Regions from separate parts of the Homo sapiens genome. Here regions 2, 3 and 4 are each linked to region 1. The links are contacts of gene promoters, found by promoter capture Hi-C in blood cells and fetal thymus (Javierre and others, 2016). All regions are on one chromosome and are shown on one strand. The core of a region is centred on a gene start or on the middle of the fragment in contact, and the rest is flanking DNA. Distances in the headings are between cores, read along the strand shown. Region 1 holds the start of ARID5B (AT-rich interaction domain 5B). Region 2 has its middle 110 kb from the start of REEP3. Region 3 holds the start of REEP3 (receptor accessory protein 3). Region 4 holds the start of NRBF2 (nuclear receptor binding factor 2).

Region 1 (5,095 bases), core at 1,179-3,678:
GCAAATAATAAGAAATCAGGAGGGGGAGAGGGAGGGGGAGGAAGACAGCTGCGCAGGAAAGTTGGGTCGGGGGAGGGGGCCGAGCCAGACCTTGGGAGGGGGAAAGAGCTCAACCTGTTGGTAGGTTGCAGGATTTTTCACAGTATTTCCAAACAACACCTTTTTAAAATTGCAGGCGGACGTCGGGAAATATGAACATTTAAAAACCAAAGCTGGCCGGGGAGGGTGGAGGGGGGAGGTGAGCGGGGAGGTGGGAGGGGCTTATTTCCGAAAAGGCAGATTCGAGGGCGAACGTTTCGACGAACTCCAGTAATTAACCGGCATAGACCACTGACGAGTAATTCGATCCTGGGGAGAGGGAGTGAACTAGCAATGCCAAAAGTACTATCAACTCGATCAAACCGAGGAATTCTGGAAGGACTGGCAGCTCCGAGCCCCGGGATGAGTTAAACGGGAAACCATTCATTTAACAAAAAGATCCTTAGATCCTTACACCTACCTCGAAAGCTCGAGAGCCTGGCACAGCACTAGCTGCCCTCAAAAGTCTGTTTGATTACCCTGCTCTCGCTTTGGCAACACAAAGCCTCGCCAGGCGGCAGTGCGCCCTCCCTCCCCGCTGCGCCGTGGGCACAGACTCCCCAAAATAGTTCCCCTCGGTAGGTACCACGGCGCTGAGGTCGGTCAGCTGAGGAGGGGAGCCCGCAGAACTGCGGTCACACATGAAATGACAGAGCCGAAGGGAGGCGGCCGCCCCGGCGCCCAGTGACAGCGGGCTCACCTCCGGCGTCCTCCCGGGAGCGCGGCGAGCGCCCCCGCGGCCGCCCAGAAACGTGCCGGGGAGGCTCTGTCCCCTCCCCGCCCTCCCCGGGAGCGCCGTCTGGGCACGGAGAACGCTGGACCCGCAGGGCCAGTGGGCGAGCACACACCCCTCTGCCCTCCCCTCCCCCGCCCCCGTCCCACACACCCCCAAAGATCGCGCAGGAGGACGTCCACTTTGCGTGGAGTAATTGCAAACTAGAACATCAAATGGCTTGTCCGGGGGGAGGGGGAGTGGGCGAGAGATAGTTGTTAATGCTTAACGTGTTTGTGCCTGTTACACCACCGCTTTGAAATCCGCCCGGGCAGATCTGCAAGTTATTTGAATGTATTATTCCAGTACCTGTCATTTATCACTTTATTCAACACGTCTTTGCCAACTCAATAGCTTTTGATCTCATTCTGCCTCCATTTCGTAATTTCCGCCCTCTTAAACATATCAAATACTTACTTTGAAAAAAGAACAATATCGAAACCCACCGAAAGAAATCCACCCAGACACGACCGAGCCAGACACGAAGGTAAATTTTCAAAAGGCAAAAAATATAAAAAGCATGTGATGTTCAAGAGGCAATAGCAGGAGAGCAAATGAACACACACACACACATACACACACACACACACACACACACACACATCCTTGAACAAAACCCTTCTCGAACAAGTTATTTGATCTTGACTAAAATCAGCAGTTGGATCCTCTTTGTAAAGCTGACAGCCAAACTCTGACAATGGCAAAATACTCGAGCCCCAGCTAGTGGCGCTACCCCTTTAAAAAAGGAGTCGATCCTGCTTGCCTGCAGAAGTGAATACAGTATTTTCAAGCTTGCCCTGTAATAAGCATTACTAGGGGGAAAAATAATAAAGAAAGAAGAGGGGGACAGACAGGTTTACCACCTCGCCATGGTCGCTATTTCTGCCCTGGGGAGTGTCTTCTGGGAGGAAATAAAGTTTAGAGCTGGATAAAAGTTGCCGGCTGGTCCTCTCTTCCCACAACAGCTGGAGCTCCGCTATGCAAATCGGATCCTTTGGCGTACATCTTACAAAGAAAAAGTCGCCAAGGGACAAAATTCTTGGTTTGCCTTCAAGGTGGAATTGAAAAGCCTTGTAGAAAATGTAAGGTCCGTGCAAGCCACACGGTGAGCCGACCCACTGCAGGGGGGGAAAAAAACACCAAATAAATAATGTAGCCATCAGAGCACAAACATCTATTCCCAGACACATTTACACACAGACATCCACTCTCTTAATACAGACGACCCAACAGATATAACGCTGGGTGGAAAAATAATAGCACCCACAAATTTTCTGCTTCCCTAAAAAAAAAAAAAAAAAAACTCAGGGCCCCCCACCGCCACTTCTACCCACCTCCCCATTTGAGGCGGTAAAATTACATTATGTATGTATGATCAGTGCAGGGATTTTTTTAAACAATAAAAATGATTTTGGGGGATGCAGAGGGTAAAAGTTTGGTGAAAAGTTTGTGGGGGGTGTGGGTGGGTGCAGAGGTGTGGGTGAGCTGGGGGGTTGGGGGGTGCCGGGGGGTGCCGGGATCGGAGGAGCGGAGGAGAGCGAAATACCTGGAGTGAGTTGGGCTCCATCTCGACGTTCTGAATTGATTGAACTCAACATTCTCTCCAAACTTGTTGGCTTGAATGGATTGCATCAGGTCCTGGCAGGGAAACGCATTCTCTGCCTTCAGCCGGCGTAATGTCTCAATATAAAACTGAGCTCTTGCCTCCCTTCGGGCACCGAAATGATTGAAAATATGTCCTAATATTTCTATAACGACTCAATTTTCAGCTCCTGAAAAAACTATGTGGGTTTTCTTCCAAAGATGGATTGATCAAATTCATAATCGAGAGAAAGGCGCCATACGATCTCGGCGGGAAGAGGATGGATCAAGGCAAAAAACACACAAGAAGATTTGTAAAAATAAAAAGCACCCTAAAACTGTGTGGAGATGTGATTCCTCTCTCTCTAACCGCTCCTGTCTGGGATATCGTCTGATGAGATTTTTGGAGGAGAGGAGGGGTAGCGAGCTCCACTGTGCATCTGACAGGACCTGCTTGTATATGTCTAATATAAAGAACATTTCCTGCAGAGATTCCGGGGCGCTGCTCCTCTTTCTAATGCTTCTTAGCAGATTTGCTGTTATTAGACATGTAGATTTGTTTGATAGTTAAATTACGCTTCCTCACTGCCATGTTTTCGAGAACTAATCTGTTAAATTATCTTTTGATGCCTATTTACATGGAAGGGAAAAGTGGGTTATCGATTATATAAACATATAAATATTAATGCATTTGTTCGCTTCGCAAAAAAATACTCAGCAAAAAAAAAAGAGACAAGTGAGCAGTGCACACACATCTTAGGATTTCGCAAACAATATTGAACGGACAGCGACTGCATTTAGGGACTGGAACAATAAACGATGCATGATAAATCAATAAATGCGAGAAGCGAGTCTGCTCAGAATATGAATTCAGGCTCCCGGTTCTGCGTGTGCATTCTTTAATTTTGAAGTATATACACTAGTACGTGTTTACAATGCTGATGGACGCCAAGGGCGCTCTCAAATGATAATGTGTTTATATAACCCAGCGCTACAGGAATAATATACCGACTCCTACCCCACCCCCATCCCCTCCCCCGCCAAAAAAGGGAGGGGAGCTTCCTCAATAATAGTTTGAAACTGAAAAAATCCATTTGCAAACTAGTTAAATACAACCAGAAATTAAGCTGTTGAAAACCGGGGGCATGAACCGTAAGACAATAAAGGCTTTAAATGTGTATATTTATTGTTCTGGAGCCCTGGAGCATTGCGAGGTTTGCATGCACGGCTATTATGCAAACACAGAGAAACTTAAGAGCGACAGAACAAGGAACAGGCAGAGACTGCAAAGCCCTCGCAAGCTCCGACCCAGCTGCCGGTCCTCCGCCAGGCTAGATTGCATTTTCGCAGTGTTGATTTAAAATGGTGTACTCGCTTCCCCCACGTTCCCCCACCCCCTTCCCCGCTCTCCTCCCACTCCTTCCAGCACACCCCCCCTCCAGCTTTTATTATATTGGCACCAATCTTTCCAAAGTGGGTCTGGCATGCTAAAAAAGTAAACATGTACTATATGGGGAATAAGGTCTGTATAGTATGACAGTTGAAACTTGATCTGTGATAAAATTACAGGATGTTGAAATTACTAGTAAGCTATTTTTAACGCTTTCGCAACGTTTCACCTCTAGTCACAGCATCTAGTTGAAACAGGATTACTTTAATGAAAATTATATTCACATGGCTGAAGTTAATACACCCGGCAGAGCACAAATGCCTCATATTCAGTGACTTGAGGTGGAAAGACCCTCTGTGTGTATTTTTATGCCTTTTCATAACGTCTGCGTCCGCTGCAGTAAGAATTAGGGCACTTAACATTATCTAAACCACATTTTTGATTCAGAATATGGGGAAGTAATAAAAGGCAAAATCTATCTCGTTTCTATACACACAGAGATAAACGAAAGAAAATGGCAGATCCTCTAATTACAATAAATAATAAAAGCCCATGCCAAAGAGCCGGTATTCTGAAAGCTGTCGAAAACTATTTTAATAATTTAAAGTAATATCACAACTCTGCACCATGGAGGACTACAATTCGCAGTCTCCCATCTTTAACATTAGCCAAATTATGACTTGCACATCACTCTTTAATTATCTCTTGAAATTTCATCTGATCTTTCTATTTTATAAACATGGGTTACAAAGAGAAATTATAGCTCTCCTGCGCTTTCTCTCTCTCTTTTTAACTTTATAATGCATACTGCAGACGTTTGATTAGAATCGCCCATTTTGTTCATTTTTAACATATGAATGGACTTGACTGAGGGGCATTTTACATGTCTTTTTTAAAAATAGATATGCCTAAAGCTTCTGTTAGTCTCTGTCGTGTTAGCGTAAATATATACATCCAGTTCAAGAAATCCTATATTAAAAAAACTTGAGTTGCAGTATTTTGACAAGATCGTATTTGAGATCGACTCTGAGTCAGTTTCCTGTATGACCAATGCAGCAGCATTTATGCAGGAAACCTCAACAGAATGCCTGAGGGTATCCCTCAATTGTATATTAAATCTCTTTCTTAAAAAATTATACAGCTCTTTACAGCATCTAAGCTACTTCTACTGTCTTTGGTGCTGTAAGTCTTTAAGTGTGTAACGAACTTCATCTAATTAGAAACCCTGTTTCTTCAGCTCTTCAAGGTAGGCACTGAACTAGGATGCATGCTGC
Region 2 (5,095 bases), core at 1,738-4,237, 1.7 Mb before region 1:
TAAACTCTTAAGATAAAATGGCGACGTCATTCTGGGAGAGGTAAAACTGGTATGTCCATGATCCTTATCAGAAGTATCATGATTGAACAAACCTGAAAGTATAGATCAGAAGTTTCACTTGTTTCTCAGTTATTGAATATGTATCTTTGTGTACATGCTATCTTTGCAAAAATGGAGAAGATGATGTAAATTGTACCAATGAATATGTAAACATACAGTGACAATATTAAACTTATAAAAGTTTTAAAAAAAATTAGACCTAAGAGGAAGGGCTGATCCACTGGATGTGGAGTGTGAGGGAGGTAATTTAGGGAGATGAGGGAGCTGTGTTATTATTTGGGAAATATTTCTCAGGGAAGATGATGAGAAAAAAATTGCATAGGAGGCATCTGAAGGTAAAATGGGACTAGAGCCCTGACCACAAAGGCCACAGCTCTATCCTGAGGAACTTTCTGAGAACATGACAGGAGACCCACAAGAGGGCACACTTCTCTCTTCCAGCCAAAATTATGGACACCTTCCATTCCAGTCCCTTCTGCTGCTGAAAAGTCATCCTTCAGACCACGATCATAGACAAAAGAAGAAAATTCTACCTGTTTTGTAGGTATTAGGAAGACTCACAGGGTGATCTGTGTGTATACAGAATCTATACTATAGATAAGCCAGAAATAAATACATAGGTACCTCTTATTTTTAAAATATATATACCAATGTATATATTAATATATCCACTATATATATTGAAATATGTTGGCCGGGCACCGTGGCTCACACCTGTAATCCCAGCACTTTAGGAGGCTGAGGCGGGCGGATCACAAGGTCAGGAATTCGAGACAAGCCTGGCCAACATGGTGAAATCTCGTCTCTACTAAAAATACAAAATTTAGCTGGGCGTGGTGGCACACGCCTGCAGTCCCAGCTACTCGGGAGGCTGAGGCAGGAAAATTGCTTGAACTCGGGGGGTGGAGGTTGCAGTGAGCCGAGATCATGCCATTGCTCTCCAGCCTGGGTGACAGAGTGAGACTTTATCTCAAAAAAAAAAAAAAAAAAAAAGGAAAGAAATACGACTGGGCGTGGTGGCTCATGTCTGTAATCCCAGCACTTTGTGAGGCTGAGGCAGGCGGATCACGAGGTCAAGAGATCGAGACCATCCTGGCCAACATAGTGAAACCCCATTTCTACTTAAAAAAAACAAAACAAAACAAAACAAAAAAACAAAAAACAAAAAACTAGCTGGGCATGGTGGCATGCGCCTTGTAGTCCCAGCTACTTAGGAGGCCAAGGCAGGAGAATCACTTGAACCTGGGAAGCAGAGGTTGCAGTGAGCCAAGATCATGCCACTGCACTCCAGTCTGGTGACAGGGCGCGACTCTTGTCTCAAAAAAAAAAAAAAGAAAGAAATACGTTAATATATACCTGGTTATAGACACTTTACCTTGCTTTATAATTCAGTACTGGTCTGAGTTCCTTAGCCTCTCTTCACTCCATGGTTTTTTTTTCTCTTTCTCCTTTTTTTTTTTTTTATTAAGAGACAGGGTCTCACTATGTTGCCCACACTAGTCTCAAACTCCTGGGCTCAAGCGATCCTCCTGCCTCAGCCTCCCAAAGTCTGGGATTTCAGGTGTGAGCCACCACACTTGGTCATGATATTTTGTCAAGCCCAAAGCCTCTCAAAGTCCTTCCCCTCCTGGTCAGGGCTCTGGAATACACAGAAAATACCTGGACACAGCTACCTTTGAAACCAAAGAGTTTGAGTGCAGGAAGGAAGAACTAGTCCAACCCTTCTTTAACTTTAAAGCAAAGGAAGCTGAGCCTGAAAAATTTAAAAGACTCCTATAGTTTCAGCAGCTCCCCTCTATACGCAATAGCCCTGACCTTTTCAGAATTGCACTTTCTGTGCATCTAATATATTTTTGAGTTCCCAAATTTTCACTTAATACAGAGGTTGCCTTGATCAGATTCTTCTAAAATTCCAAAGGAAGAAGGGGCTACACAGAAAAAGGAAGAGGATGTTTTCAACATACATCTGTTAATACCTTATCATCACCCTAGTGAAATTTTCTGAAAGAACGAACAATCTTCTTTGGGAAGTGGTTATAATGGGAAACCCAGAAGTCAAATCCATGTTTTAAAAGGCTTTCACAGTATGACGAAAGACTAGGTATGCATCATTATCATTTCATCCAATTTCCTCTAGTTAGACTGAAAGCCCTGCCAGGGCAAGGACTGGAGATGTGCCTAGAGTGTTGTGGGTTTTATTCATTCAACGAATGTATTAAAACTCATACTCCTTTTAAAAAAGGATCTCTGGAGGCTACCCAGTTACCATTGCCCACACCTTTCATTTTGGTGGTAAACAGTCTACTCACATTGATAATAACAATTATGTTCTTCCTATGCATTAAACTTTGTGTTAAGCACTTGATTTGCAGTATCATTAATCCTTAACCCTTACACCACTCCTATGCTACTCTAAAATATACAGTTACATTTTAGAAATGATGAAGCTTGCCAGGCATGGTGGCTCACGCCTGTAATCTCAACACTTTGGGAGGCTGAGCTGGGAGGAATGCTTGAGGCTAGGAATTTCAGGCGAGCCTGGGCAACATAGTGAGTCCCCTATCTCTAAAAAACAAAAATAAAAAATTAACCAGGTGTGGTGGCATGCGACTGTAACCCTTGCTGGTTGGGAGGCTGAGGCCAGAGGATAGTCTGAGCCCAGGGGTTTGAGGCTGCAACGAGCTAGGATCGTGCCATTGTACTTTAGCCTGCGCAACACAGTGAGACCCTGTCTCTAAGCAGCACCAGGGGCAAAAGACATTATGCAATTTGCCACAATTCACAGAAATAAGCAATGGAAGAGCTCATATTTGAAAACTTACCGCAGGCATTTAGTATCCTGTTTTGTTTTGATTCTTAGTGAAGCCTGGCAGTCTTTGGGAGAGGAAACCCCAAGGCTTGTTCAGAGTTTCAGCTGGTGAATAAGGTGGGACCCATTCATGCACTTCGCCCCCACCGGGAGATGTGCCATAAATTGAAGACTGTGAATAGTCACTGGTTTTGTAAAAGACTATGTGTCAACTGGGACCATCCGATGAAAAAGGACCAACATCATTTAACATAATTTTCTTGTTGGTTATGATTTTTTCTCTAAGGATATTTCCCCCCTCTGGTTTTCTAAATTGTCACAAAACATTTGCGCAACGACCTGGGGTGTTATGACACCCTTAGATGAAAATCTGAGGACAGCTTGGATGAAGAATAACTTTTAAGTAACAACATAGTCCGCCCTCGCCTTGGTTAAACAAATCGAATGGAAACGATTTGTTCAAGATGGGAGCATCAAATAGACGCAAGCTCTTCGAAACAGCCCTGATTCCCTGGCAAACGCTGTTGCTTAGCGAAACGTCAAAACCCCTGCGTGCAAACAAACGTCTGAGGGGCGCACCCGCCTTGAGCAAGCTTCTCCCGGCAGCTCGGGCTTTGGAGAACGTCTGGAGGACATTGGTAGCTCCTCCCTCTCCGGTTAAGGACTTGGTAGGGGGAAGAGGGCAGAGGATCCAGGATCTCCGGGTCGGGTCATCTGGGTTGACGCGTCCTGACACCCAGGACGGTGCAGGGGAGCTCCGGGGCGAGTCGCTTCGCGCCAGGAAAGGCCTGCGTCTCAGCGCTGGAACAGAGGGGAGAAGCAGAGGGGAGCCCCGCCCTCGGTCCAGTTCTGGAGCAGTGCGCCCCTCCCCCGCCCCGGAAACGTCCCCGCCGCCCCTCCCTCCACCACCACCTCCCGGGGACCTAGGTTGTAAAATCCCACGCAGTGGGGCGGGCACGGTGACGGGGGTGGGGCGGGTGGCGTAAGGCGCCACCGCCCACTGGCACGGCACCAGCGCCCTCCAGCACCCAACCGCCGCCTCCCTCTCCCCGGCGCGGCTCCAGCCTCCCCCCGCCAGCCCAGCCCCCCCAGCGTGGCTCCAGCCTCACTGCACCCACCCACCCTGCACCGCAACCTCCCAGCACCCTAGCTGCCCGGCCGGCCCAGCTCGGCTCTGGAGGGCGTCCCTCGCATCTGGACTCCCTCTGCCCGAGGGAGGAGCCGCAGCCGCGGTCGCCCCGCCCCTGGCGTTCTTTGACTCCCCCGGCCTCTTGGACATCTGGGTGCGGGGGTTAGTGCATCAGATGTGGCTCCTGGGCCGCCAGATGTGCGCGTTCCCCGCCCGGGGCAGGCGGCCGGCGAGTCTGGGAGGACGCGTGGGAGGGGCTGGGAGTTTTCCCTCCTAGCAGACTTAAAAGCCAGCAGAACCTCCAGCCCCCTGGGCTCCCGGCCTGGGCCTCCTGGGTCTCCGGGACGCACTGCCCAACGGAAAAGTTTTCAGCCCAGTCTGTGCCTCGCCGCCAAGCAGCCCTTGGGGCTTCTCAAAGTGGTAGAGAAAATAGGACAGCTCTACAGGATGCCCCAAAGAAAACCCTCATTTGTCGACCAGGCGACCTTAGTGCTGGCGTGGGACTACAGCTGCGCAGCCAGCAAACCCCAGTTGGGGGAGGGGGAGAAGTGGCAGTAGAGTTCGCATCTGGGGCTTGCTCTAAAGCGCTCTTTGACTGCTTTTGGATTCCATATTTGAAGTTGAGAGTCGTATTCCACCTGGTACAGGCAGTTCAGGGCAGGAGAAAAGCCAAGTGAACTCTGTGACTCAATCCCCTTGGAATGTGCCTGGAATAATAATAGGGACTTGAAAGGGTTTTATGGCCGAGGTGGCTAGTGGAGAGCAGTCTCCTACGCCTTGCAGTTGGCGGTCGGCCGAGGGGGGCAGTATTGCCTTATGCAGAGCTTCTGCGCCTGCAAACGGGACAAAAATAGTCGGAGCATCTGGTTTAAATCAACCAAAAAGCATTTCTATCAGCTTAATCCACCGGCCTACAGAACTGACAGAACAGGACAAGCCAAATATATTCCCGGTACTCTTTTAACACTCCAATAATAGCTAAGCCCAATCACACTTTACCGCTGGGATTTCTGTGTCCTACCATACAACTGTCGTTATTTTATAGATGTTGCAAATTAAACTTCCTTTTCTGGAGTTGTGTGTGGGCATGTGCTTAA
Region 3 (5,095 bases), core at 1,400-3,899, 1.6 Mb before region 1:
GACATTTTCTTCCTCACATTATTGCTCCCTGTCGTTAGCCTCAAACCTTACATTCTGTAGCTCAAGTACTTTAACTGGAGAGAGGCTTTAATCCCCTCTCTCCAGTTAGGGAGCCTCCTAAGGAGTCTCCTTGTCTTCCAGGTCTCCATTGCCAATCATTTCACAGAAGGGCAGAGAATCTTCCAAAGCAAAGCTGTTGCTGCCTTATAACATTTACCCCTTCTTTCTTGAAAACAGGCCCCAGGCTACCTTTCCAGCTTGCTTTTTCCCCACCCGAGTCCCTCACGCCCACTGTAACTAATCTGGGCTTTTCCTCCTCTGGGCTTTGGCTCACGCCGGTCCCTATATCTGGAATCCTTTCCTTTTTCATCTTTGGCTGCCTAGATTCTGTCCATTCTTTTTTGTTTTTTTTCTGAGGCACAGTCTCACTCTGTGGCCCAGGCTGGAGTGCAGTGGCACGATCACGGCTCACTGCAGCCTTGACCTCCTGAATTTGAGCGATCCTCCTACCTCAGTCCCTGAGTAGCTGGGATTACAGGTGTGAGCTACTGTGACTAGCTAATTAAATTTTTCTTTTTTTGTGGAGACAAGGTCTCGCTATGTTGCCCAGGCTGGTCTCTAACTCTTGTGATCAAACAATCTTCCCTCCTTGGCCTCCCAAAGTGCTAGGATTACAGGTGTGAGCCACTCTACTGGGCCTATTCTTTAAGGCCCATCTGAAACGTAATCTCCCTTGCCTTTTCTGATTCTCCAACCAGATATCCCTTCCTTGTCCAACACTGGGTATTAGAGTGGGTGTAACTTTTACAAGAGTTGACATTTGGACCTGTACTGCAGATATCTGTGCACCCAAACTGTCAATTCCCATGATCAACTACGTGTTACTGACCTTTGTGTTATAGGTAGCACCTAGAACAGACATTCATATTCATTGGCAATTATGAAAAACAAAAGTCTAAAAGTGCTTCACAATTTTCTGTCAGCTGAAGAACTGGTCAAAGAAATCCAGAGGCTTTTTTTTTTTTTTTTGTAAAGTACAGCTTCTTAATAGGGCACTTGATTTTCTAGGTGTGGACACAACAGTTGATAGACATCTACTAGGTCAAGAAAGGTATGCCTGAATTAGATAAATGACAGACTCAAAAGAGAGGCCAGGAAAAGGCTGAAAAACAATCTGAAGGCATCTGTGGTATCCTTTTGTTTATATCTTGATTTTTAGTTTCGTACAGGGGAACACAGGAAGCTCTGAGGCTTTAAAACTAGAAACTTTGCGATTTAATCAAATGAAAAATTTTGAATGCTGTGCTGCAAATCTGATTAAATAGGGCTAGTAATTCACTTCCAAACAAAATAAACCCCAAACTCAGAAAATCTAGCTCCTTTTAACAAAAAGTCTGGTAATGTTATTTTTCCTAAATTCTAAAGCTTATCAGAGAAGCCTGCCCCCTCACATAAACATTTTTTCATATACCTTTATGAAACCTTCTGAGATAACACTACTACAGAGGTGAATAATGAATTCATAGGCCCTAGCTGTAACTACGTCATTGTTTACTTGGTGACTTTTTTTTTAATCGGGGAGAGGGGTAAAATGGAGATGAGAGAAAATCAGTTTAAACTGTATTCAAATACATTTACACGATTAACACCACCAACTCAAGGAATTTCTTTTTCTTACAGACCTGTAGCACTTGTTGGTAGGAGAACAATGAAATGAACCCATAATTTGAACAAAGGCAACAGGCACCTGCAGCCTTTCAATCACTTAGCAAATATTTCCGCCGAGACAGGGCCGAATTCGGGGATCTGGGCGAGCAGCCGGTGTCACCTTTCTCGGTAAGCTGCAAATCTTGGGAAAACTAGGACCCTTCCCAGGGATCCTGGGCTGGGAGCGGTCTCCGGTTTTTAGACAAATCTCTCCTCCTACCACACGTGACCGAATGGCAATCAGCCGCCAAGAGAGACACCGCAACGCATCAGCCGCGGGATACAAAGGCTCGGCACTGCCGTCGCATCCTCGGGAGGATCGCGGAGCCTCCCGCGCTCGGCGTCTGCGGAGCCTGCGCAGGGAGCAGCTGCGAGGCGCGCCGCTCCCGGGCCCGCAGGGCGGTGCCGCGCTGCGCGGGGAGCAGGAGCGGGGAGCGCGCGCCGCCTGCCCTGAGCGCCTGCCCACCCAGCGCCGCCGGAGCAGGGGCGCCGCGCCGCACCGCACGCAGCCGAGCAGCGCCACAGCCGCCGCCGCCGTCGCAGCCGCAGTCGCCGCAGCTAGGCCCTCGGCCGTCGCAGGGAGCTCCGCAGCGACGTGGACCAAGGTGAGGAAGCCGAGGGCTCCCCCAGACCCTCGGCAGGCCCGAGGCCGGGCTACCCCGTCCCCGCCCAGGCCCAGGCCTTCCCTTTCCTCTCGGCTCCTTCCCCTTCCCACAGCTCCCCTGGGCCTCGCGCCGGCTGCAGGGCGCAGTGAGAGGCACTTACACCACGGCTCTGGAGATCATCCAGGACACCATCTTCACGGGGGCTTGGGCCCCACGTCCGGGGCGGGTGGGCGCAGGGCGCTGCGGACCAGGCCGCCAACGGCAGGCCGCGCGCTTCGCCGGCTCCTCGCGCTCCCCGGGGCCGCGCTGGCGCCCTCAGGAGCCGGGCCCGGTGTGTGCGCGCGGCGGCCTGGGCTGCGCAGAGGTCGGTCCCCCGCCCGTCCCCGCCCGCCCCCGCCCGCCGGCCCGGCAGCCTAGTCCGGACAGCACCCCGCCCCTGCGCTCCGCTGATAGGCGGTGGCGGCGGCGCGTTGGCCCGGGCCAGGGCTGGGGCCAGGCGGCCGGGCTCCAGGGCTGGGCTGGCGGGATCCTAGCCCGCGCTGGACGGCCTCGCTGCCGCGGCCTTGGCCCCTGCGCTCTAACCAACCTTACCCTCCTTAGCTCTTTGGGACGCCCACACTCGCGGCGAGAGTGGGGCAGGAGGCTGAGGAAGGGTACTGGAGGGTAGGGATTGGCAGTGCCTGTGTGAAAAGTGAGATATTCGCAGGAACTCGGTGTCCAATAAAACTCTCGACCAGGCCCTGGTTTTGGAGAGCCAAGACTTTGAGGTGTGCCTGGCCACATCCGGTATCCTCAGTGTTTACGGAGGCCCAGCACCAAAGGCGTCCTTATATTACCACATTTTAAAGGAATCGTCGAGAGGTTCTTGCACAGGCCTCCGTGTGTGCCACGAGTCTCGTGGTGCAATGCAGGGAGGGACAGAGGAGGATTTCATGTTTGCAGTAGTGGGTGCAGTGATACCACTGTTCTGGGCCTCTTAGGGCACCTTTTCATCAGAGCATCTGCAAAGACTGTTTACAGACACGAATCTCCATTATTTCCCTGAGGCCTGCCAGATGTTCAAAGTAAAGGCTGGGTCTAGGATTCCTGACCTGTCTTAAGATTTACAACTATATTACAGCTGTAAGATTTACAACTGTATTTTTTGGAGGTTGGGTTACTGCTTACACCTTGCTGTTCTTGCAAATATCATTTCAAGGGCAGACTTTTAAAACTGTTTTTTTTTTTTTTTTGTGACAGTACCAAATTGAGAAAATGATGTTAAAGTTTAGATATTTTTATTTTTTCCAGTTAAGACGATAGTAAAAGATAATTCTAGTATTCAGATGGTGCGAAGAATAAAAGATGAAATGTAGGCTTGGAGCCTTTAATTAAAGTCCTAGAAAATATGATGGCTTTTGTGACCATACTGTAATTTTGTCTTCTTGTTCCTCAGTTTCCCTGTGATAAAAAGGGGGTAATAATACTGTAGTCTGTCTCTTGCCTTTCAAGGGTGATATGAGGCACTGCTAAATAATATGTTTAGGAAATACTCTGACTTGCATGGAAGACAATCAAAGGACACAACAGATTATCCTAAATTATTTTCAGTTCTCAGTCAATAAATTGGGTAATATTTCATTATTTAAGAAACAAGCTCAGAAGCTACTTTCTACTCTTGGGTTAGGTTCTTTTCGCTTATTAATTCATGTCAAGACTTTTTATTTCAGGAATTTGAGTAATAATTTGCATTTAACTCTGAATCTTTTATTTTTGGCCATTATTCAGCATTATTTGAGGATCAGGTGTGCTGCATAAGCACCAGTTTTTTGGCGAACTCTCTTGTTCAATAAAACTCAAATGAATTTGAATATCATTCAGATCCCTTCATGAAAGGTCCTGAAATAGCTTTACAGCCTTTACTTTTACTACTTTCACCCCCAACTCCTAATGTACCCGTTCCCTACCTCTCTTCTTTCAGCCAACCTGTATTTTCATGCTCAGTGCTTTTGCCCAGATTTCGTTTTTCCCTTAACACTTTGCTCCCCATTCTGTACCTATCAGAACTCTCATTTTTCAGTGGCCTGTGCCATGAAGACATCCTTGGTTTTCCTCAGGGACAATTATTCCTAATTTTGTCTGTGCTCTCATAATTTATTACTTGAATTTCTATTTCTTATCTGTGTCATTCTGCCTCTACCATGTCTAATGTACTGAATGGTAAAATGTTTGAGAACAGACATGGTGTATTAGATTTCTTTGTGTTTTCCAACTATCTAGCCTCAGATAGGGTAAACGTCCAATAAAAATTTGAATAATGTTTGTGAAATACAGTCACTCTTTAGGCATCAGATTTAAAAAATTTCAGCCACGTACATTGGAAGTCTCTTAAAAATGTCTTTCTTGCCTTTTTACTTTGGAGGTCATCATTGTGAATATTAATTATTTCAGCTAATCCTAGTACATTAATGCCTTCAGGGGTTGCTGAAGGCAACCTAGGTAGGATGGCTGGCTGCTCTCTGAAATGTCCCTAGACTGCTGTGCGTTAAGTTTCATTTTGTATGCTTATTATATCTTCTGCCTCTTCCACATTTAGATTACTTTTTGCTGCTTTCTTTCTATTTACCTGGAACAGTGCCTTTTTTCACATCTCAATAGGCCATGGGTTGGAAACCACCTACTATGTGCTATACACGTGTCATTGAGTCATTCTGACAACTTAAAAAGCCATATAGCGTTTATTCCCTTTTGGTACCATGGAAAGTGAGGTTTAGAGAAGTTAACTCAACTGGCGGGTGATCACA
Region 4 (5,095 bases), core at 793-3,292, 1.2 Mb before region 1:
AACTAGAACTGAACCAATGCTCATTTGGCAAGGACACCTGAACTCTGAAGCACTTCGTAAACAGCTGATTATTTCTAGTAATACTCCTGTGAAGTTTCAGTATTGAGCCATCCACTGTATTTCATTGCCAACTATATGTCGCCTTAAAAACAAGAAAAGTGCAAGACAGTTCCCTGGTTATTTGAGTCAGAGTCTCGCTCTGTCGCCCAGGTTGGAGTGCAGTGGCACAATCTCGGCCCACTGCAACCTCCACCTCCTGGGCTCAAGCGATCCTGCCACCTCAGCCTCCCGAGTAGCTGGGACCACAGGCGGGCGCCACCACGCCAGGCTATTTTTGTATTTTTTGTAGAGACCGGGTTTCGCCATGTTGCCCAGGCTGGTCTCGAACTTCTAAGCTCAAGTGATTCGCCCGCCTCGGCCTCCCAAAGTGCTGGGATTACAGGCGTGAGCCCCGGCGCCTGGCCAGTTCCCTGGTTAAAAAAAACTCGCAAATGTAGTCCAATTCGTCTTAAGTGTAAATACCTACCACCTGGGGCAAGACCCAACTTAAAAGGGAGGGGCGCCTCACAACAGTTAACCTGGCACCAGTGATTTGGTCCGAGAATCTTAGGCTTTTAAAGCTCAAGTCCAAACCTTTATTCTACAAATAGATTTTAAATTAAGGGCTTATGGTCTGGTTATAATCGCTAACTCTTACACTGTACTATGTACTTAGTACAGTTCTAAGTGCTTTACACCTATTTACTCCTTTAATCCTCCCAAAAAACCTGAAGCCGAGTGAAGCCAAGTAGTTTGCCCAAGGTAACACAGATATCAAGTGACGAGGTTAGAATTCAAATCCAAGCAGCATAGCTTCAAAACCTAGAGTCTTAAACCACCTGACTCTACTGCTCTTCTAGGACTCAGAGTTCTAATGTGAGAAAAGAATCCTCTATAGAGCTTTCTTTCAATTCCACCATCGCAAATGAATTGCAAACCTGTGACTCAAAAGTTCTTCCTGTGTGCAACCTTAAGTAATCTGACTTTTACATCCAAAATGGGTAACCTCTCTGGAAAACTAAAAGATGCAATGGCCAGTCTGAAAAGAACTCATGCTTCCCGTTGTTAGTGGGGTTCTGTTGTGTTGTTTTTTAATTGCAACACCTGAAACGCCTTAAAACACAAGTAAACAGGCTATCAGCCATTTTCCTGAGAACAGCAAACACCTATTACACTTTCATGATGCCTAAATTGATGAATCTGAGCTAAATACAGGAACGGCTGTCTTTTTCCCAGCTGTCTCTAATATATTTGGAAGACGGTAGACTCAGTTTATGCATGTGAATGTATGTGAGAAATGAGGGGGAAGTGGAGGGTGAGGAGGGGGAAGTGGAGGGTGAGGAGGGGGAAGTGAAGGGTGAGGAGGGGGAAGTGGAGGGTGAGGAGGCTATTCACTCCTCCACCTCTCCAAAGCGGGGCGACTCAGACTCAGACCCTGCTGCTAGAACTTAAAACCAGTATCACACCATTTCTGCCTTGGCCGGCTTCAGTGCCTCTCCAGGCTGTAGGGAGGTGGCTACGTGGCGCTAAGAGGACTTCCCCCAGCCAGAGAGGAGGTGGCAGCCCCAGGTGGTGGCATCCCCTCGCCCGGGGCCCCGCGACAGGGGGCGCCAGGACTTCCCGGGGATCCCCCAGGAGGGCAAAGTCTGAAGTGGCTAGCCTGGAGCCGCAGTTGGGCCAGGGCCTGCCTAGCAGCCCCTCACAGCCTCTGCGACCACTCCTGCCAAACCAACCTCCCAGCCTAAAGGGTTAGCCGACGCGCCGGGGACGGGGCCGGGCTCCTGAGGCAAAGGCACCCAAGACGAACGCTATATTCTGTGGGACACTCACCAGGTTGAGGGGTCCTTCCATTACTTCCATAGACCCCGGGGTAAGCGGCGGCCTTAGGAAGGGGAGTAGTGGCGCCGGGGAACATGGAGGGGACTGCAAGGGAGCTCGACGCAGCCGCGGAGACTGCGGCCCCTCTCTGCGCCCCAAGAGCCAGCGATAGGCGCTGAAGGAGCAACAACCTCACCACTTCCTCCTCCGGCGCCGCGCCGCGGGCCCGCCCCCTGCGCCACCGCCGAGGCCACGCACGGCGCCATGACGTCACACGCGCAAAAGGCTGGTTCAAGGTGGGAATGAGGACAGGCAGTGGGTGGGGCCCAGGGAAGGCGGGGCACCAGCTGATGTACGCTTGCGAGCGGTCAATCTTTCCTCTCGCGAGAAGCGTTAGTTTAGGTTCTTAAAGTCTACACTGAAGTCACGTGAGGAGGTACAGCCTTGCTGTTGAAGACTTGAAATGGCTGTCTTCTGCAATTAGCTTCTCACGTTTCCTTTTAGACTGACTTTTCCTTAAATCTGCTAATCGTTACACCGTTACTTGTGGTCCTGTCCACACCTTTATCATTGTACATGATTCATTTTTTCAAAAGGCCGATTTGAGCAATTCTAGACCATGCACTGGACTAACCCCCCTAGAGGTCAGCACACTCGAATGATTTAGGGCTCTGCCCTCAAGTTGCTCACAAACTGATAGGGAAACAATTTTGGTCTAGCCAAATATAATACTGCATTCATTTAACAATTATGTGCCAAACAAAAGCTAGGTTCGTTCTGTCATGGAATTCACTGACAAATAGTTGTGATTTATGCTGGAAAGGGAACACATAGGGAGCTGTGATAGAGTAACCAAGGTGGAGTTGGGTGGTAAAGGAAAGCCTTTCATGGGGGGCGTGATTTTTTTTGAGAAAGTGTCTTGCTGACGCAATCTCCACTCACTGCAACCTCCCTCTGCCCGCCCCCTGCCCCAGGCGATCCTCACACCTCAGTCTCTTAAGTAGCTAGGAACTACAAGTGCTCAGGCCAGGTTAATTTTTGTATTTTTTGTAGAGATGGGGTTTCGCCATGTTGCCTATGCTGATCTTGAACTGCTGAGCTCAAGTGAGCTCAATGATCCGCCCTCCTGGACCTCACAAACTGATGGGATTATAGGCATGAGCTACCGCACCTGGCTAAGGGCGTAATCTTTAAGATTAAACCTTAAAATGCCAGTTAAACAAAGACCCTTCTCGACAAAGGAAATGTCTTATGCCTCAACTCTAAAGGCGGGGAGGTCGGGTGGCGGGAGCTGCAGCATTTCAGAGAGATGCAAAAGAAGATACCAGAGAGATAGGAAACTTCCAAAACATAGGTGTCCTTGCAGTGCACAATGAAACATTTGAATTTTACTCAAAGTGCATTGGGAAATAAGTAAAGGATATTAAGCTAGAGAATAATCTGCTTTAATTTACAGTTTTGAAAAGATTAATTTCCCTGTAATGTGAAGAATAGATTGTGGAAGGCCTAAGGAAAAAGAACCAAGACAAGCTAGTTGATTGACTAATTATGGGCGCTCAGACTGGAATGGAAGTAGGGAAGATTGGGTCATGCATCCACTCATTACATAGTTATCATGTTTCTACCATGTGCCGGAAACCTTGGAAGAGAAGTAGATATATTCAAGATATATTTTTGGGCATCAGGTTGAGAGGAGTTAGTGATGGAATGGCAGTAAAGCATACAGAAAATGGAAGAATCAAATCTCGTATTTAAACAACCAAGTGGCCTAGCACACTGGCTCACCCCTGTAATCCCAGCTCTTTGGGAGGTCAAGGAGAGCAGATCACTTGAGGCCAGGAGTTTGAGACTGGTCTGGCCAACGTGGTGAAACTTCATCTCTACTAAAAGCACTAAAACGTAGCCAAGTGTGGTGGCGCGTGCCTGTAATCCCAGCTACTGGGGAGACTGAGGCAGGAGAATTGCTTGAACCTGGAAGGCAGAGGTTGCAGTGAGCTGAGACCAATCACACCACTGCATTCCAGCCTGGGTGACACAGAGAGACTCTGTCTCTAAAAATAAAAAAATAAAAAAGTAAACAACCAAGTGGACAAGATAGTGAGAGACAGGACTAGCTGGATTTCCTAGGCCAACTAAGAATTCCTAAACCTAGCTGGGGAAGGTGACCACACCCACATTTAAACACAGGGCTTGTAACTCAGTTCACACCCGACTAATCAGGTAGTAAAGAGGGCTCACTAAAATACAAATTAGGCTAGAAGCAGAAGGTAAAGAAATAGTCAAATCATATATCGCCTGAGAGCACAGGGGGAGGGACAATGATCAGGATATAAACCCAGGCATTCGAGCAGGGAGTGGCAACCCCCTTTGGGTCCCCTCCCATTGTATGGGAGCTCTGTTTTCACTCTATTAAATCTTGCAACTGCACACTCTTCTGGTCCATGTTTGTTACAGCTTGAGCTGAGCTTTCACTCACCGTCCACCACCGCTGTTTGCTGCCATCACAGACCCGCCGCTGACTTCCACCCCTCTGGATCCATCAGGGTGTCCACTGTGCTCCTGATCCAGCGAGGCGCCCATTGCTGCTCCCAATCGGGCTAGAGGCTCGCCATTGTTCCTGCAAGGCTAAGTGCCCAGGGTTTGTCCTAATCGAGCTGAACACTAGTTGCTGGGTTCCACGGTTCTCTTCTGTGACCCACGGCTTCTAATAGAGCTATAACACTCACTGCATGGCCCAAGGTTCCATTCCTTGGAATCCGTGAGGCCAAGAACCCCAGGTCAGAGAACAAAAGGCTTGCCGCCATCTTGGAAGTGGCCTGCCACCATCTTGGGAGCTCTAAGAACAAAGACCCCCTGGTAACAATAGGAAGGAGCTAATTTGTATGGAAAATGAAAAGTTCTATCTTGGGCACTGTATTAATTTCCTATGACTGCTGTAAGAAGTTACTACCCATTTAGTGGATTAAAACAACAGAAATTTGGAGGCTAGCAGTTCTGGAGGCTAGAAGACCAAAATAATTTTTTTTTTTTTTTGAGACGGAGTCTCGCTCTTTCACCCAGGCTGGAGTGCAGTGGCTCGATCTTGGCTCACTGCAGGCTCCACCCCCGGGGTTCACGCCATTCTCCTGCCTCAGCCTCCCACATAGCTGGGACTACAGGCGCCTGCCACCTCGCCTGGCTAATTTTTTGTATTTTTAGTAGAGACGGGGTTTCACCGTGTTAGCCAGGATGGTCTCGA

What was found. Contacts are between HindIII fragments. The CHiCAGO score rates a contact against its expected background, and 5 or more counts as called.
Region 2: a contact is called between a fragment that was not itself captured here and the fragment with the promoter of ARID5B in region 1, in 1 of 17 cell types (fetal thymus). The highest score is 8.6, in fetal thymus.
Region 3: the fragment with the promoter of REEP3 here is called in contact with the fragment with the promoter of ARID5B in region 1 in 2 of 17 cell types (fetal thymus and total CD8 T cells); the score reaches 8.4 in fetal thymus.
Region 4: the fragment with the promoter of NRBF2 here is called in contact with the fragment with the promoter of ARID5B in region 1 in 6 of 17 cell types (naive CD8 T cells, monocytes, M0 macrophages and 3 more); the score reaches 8.5 in naive CD8 T cells.

What each region holds. Positions count from the first base shown.
Region 1 is chr10:61,899,032-61,904,126 of GRCh38, reverse strand. ARID5B (AT-rich interaction domain 5B) reads right to left here and starts at 2,428. Exons shown (of 10, transcript NM_032199.3): 1 at 2,397-2,428; 2 at 1,714-1,968. The coding sequence starts at 2,417. RefSeq lists silencers at 677-996, 3,737-3,906 and an enhancer at 2,236-2,738. The HindIII fragment of the contact is 3,094 bases long and covers 1,644-4,737 here.
Region 2 is chr10:63,629,267-63,634,361 of GRCh38, reverse strand. It overlaps the pseudogene MRPL35P2. Among named protein-coding and RNA genes, the nearest start is that of REEP3, 110 kb to the right of the region's middle. RefSeq lists a silencer at 3,707-4,036 and enhancers at 4,507-4,556, 4,567-4,746. The HindIII fragment of the contact is 955 bases long and covers 2,510-3,464 here.
Region 3 is chr10:63,518,955-63,524,049 of GRCh38, reverse strand. REEP3 (receptor accessory protein 3) reads right to left here and starts at 2,649. Exons shown (of 8, transcript NM_001001330.3): 1 at 2,473-2,649. The coding sequence starts at 2,504. It also overlaps a transcript of JMJD1C not described here. RefSeq lists a silencer at 1,964-3,013 and an enhancer at 3,404-3,453. The HindIII fragment of the contact is 3,716 bases long and covers 1,428-5,095 here.
Region 4 is chr10:63,130,275-63,135,369 of GRCh38, reverse strand. It overlaps NRBF2 (nuclear receptor binding factor 2), which reads right to left and starts at 2,042. Exons shown (of 4, transcript NM_030759.5): 1 at 1,870-2,042. The coding sequence starts at 1,899. RefSeq lists silencers at 1,496-1,765, 1,976-2,225. The HindIII fragment of the contact is 9,214 bases long and covers 1-5,095 here.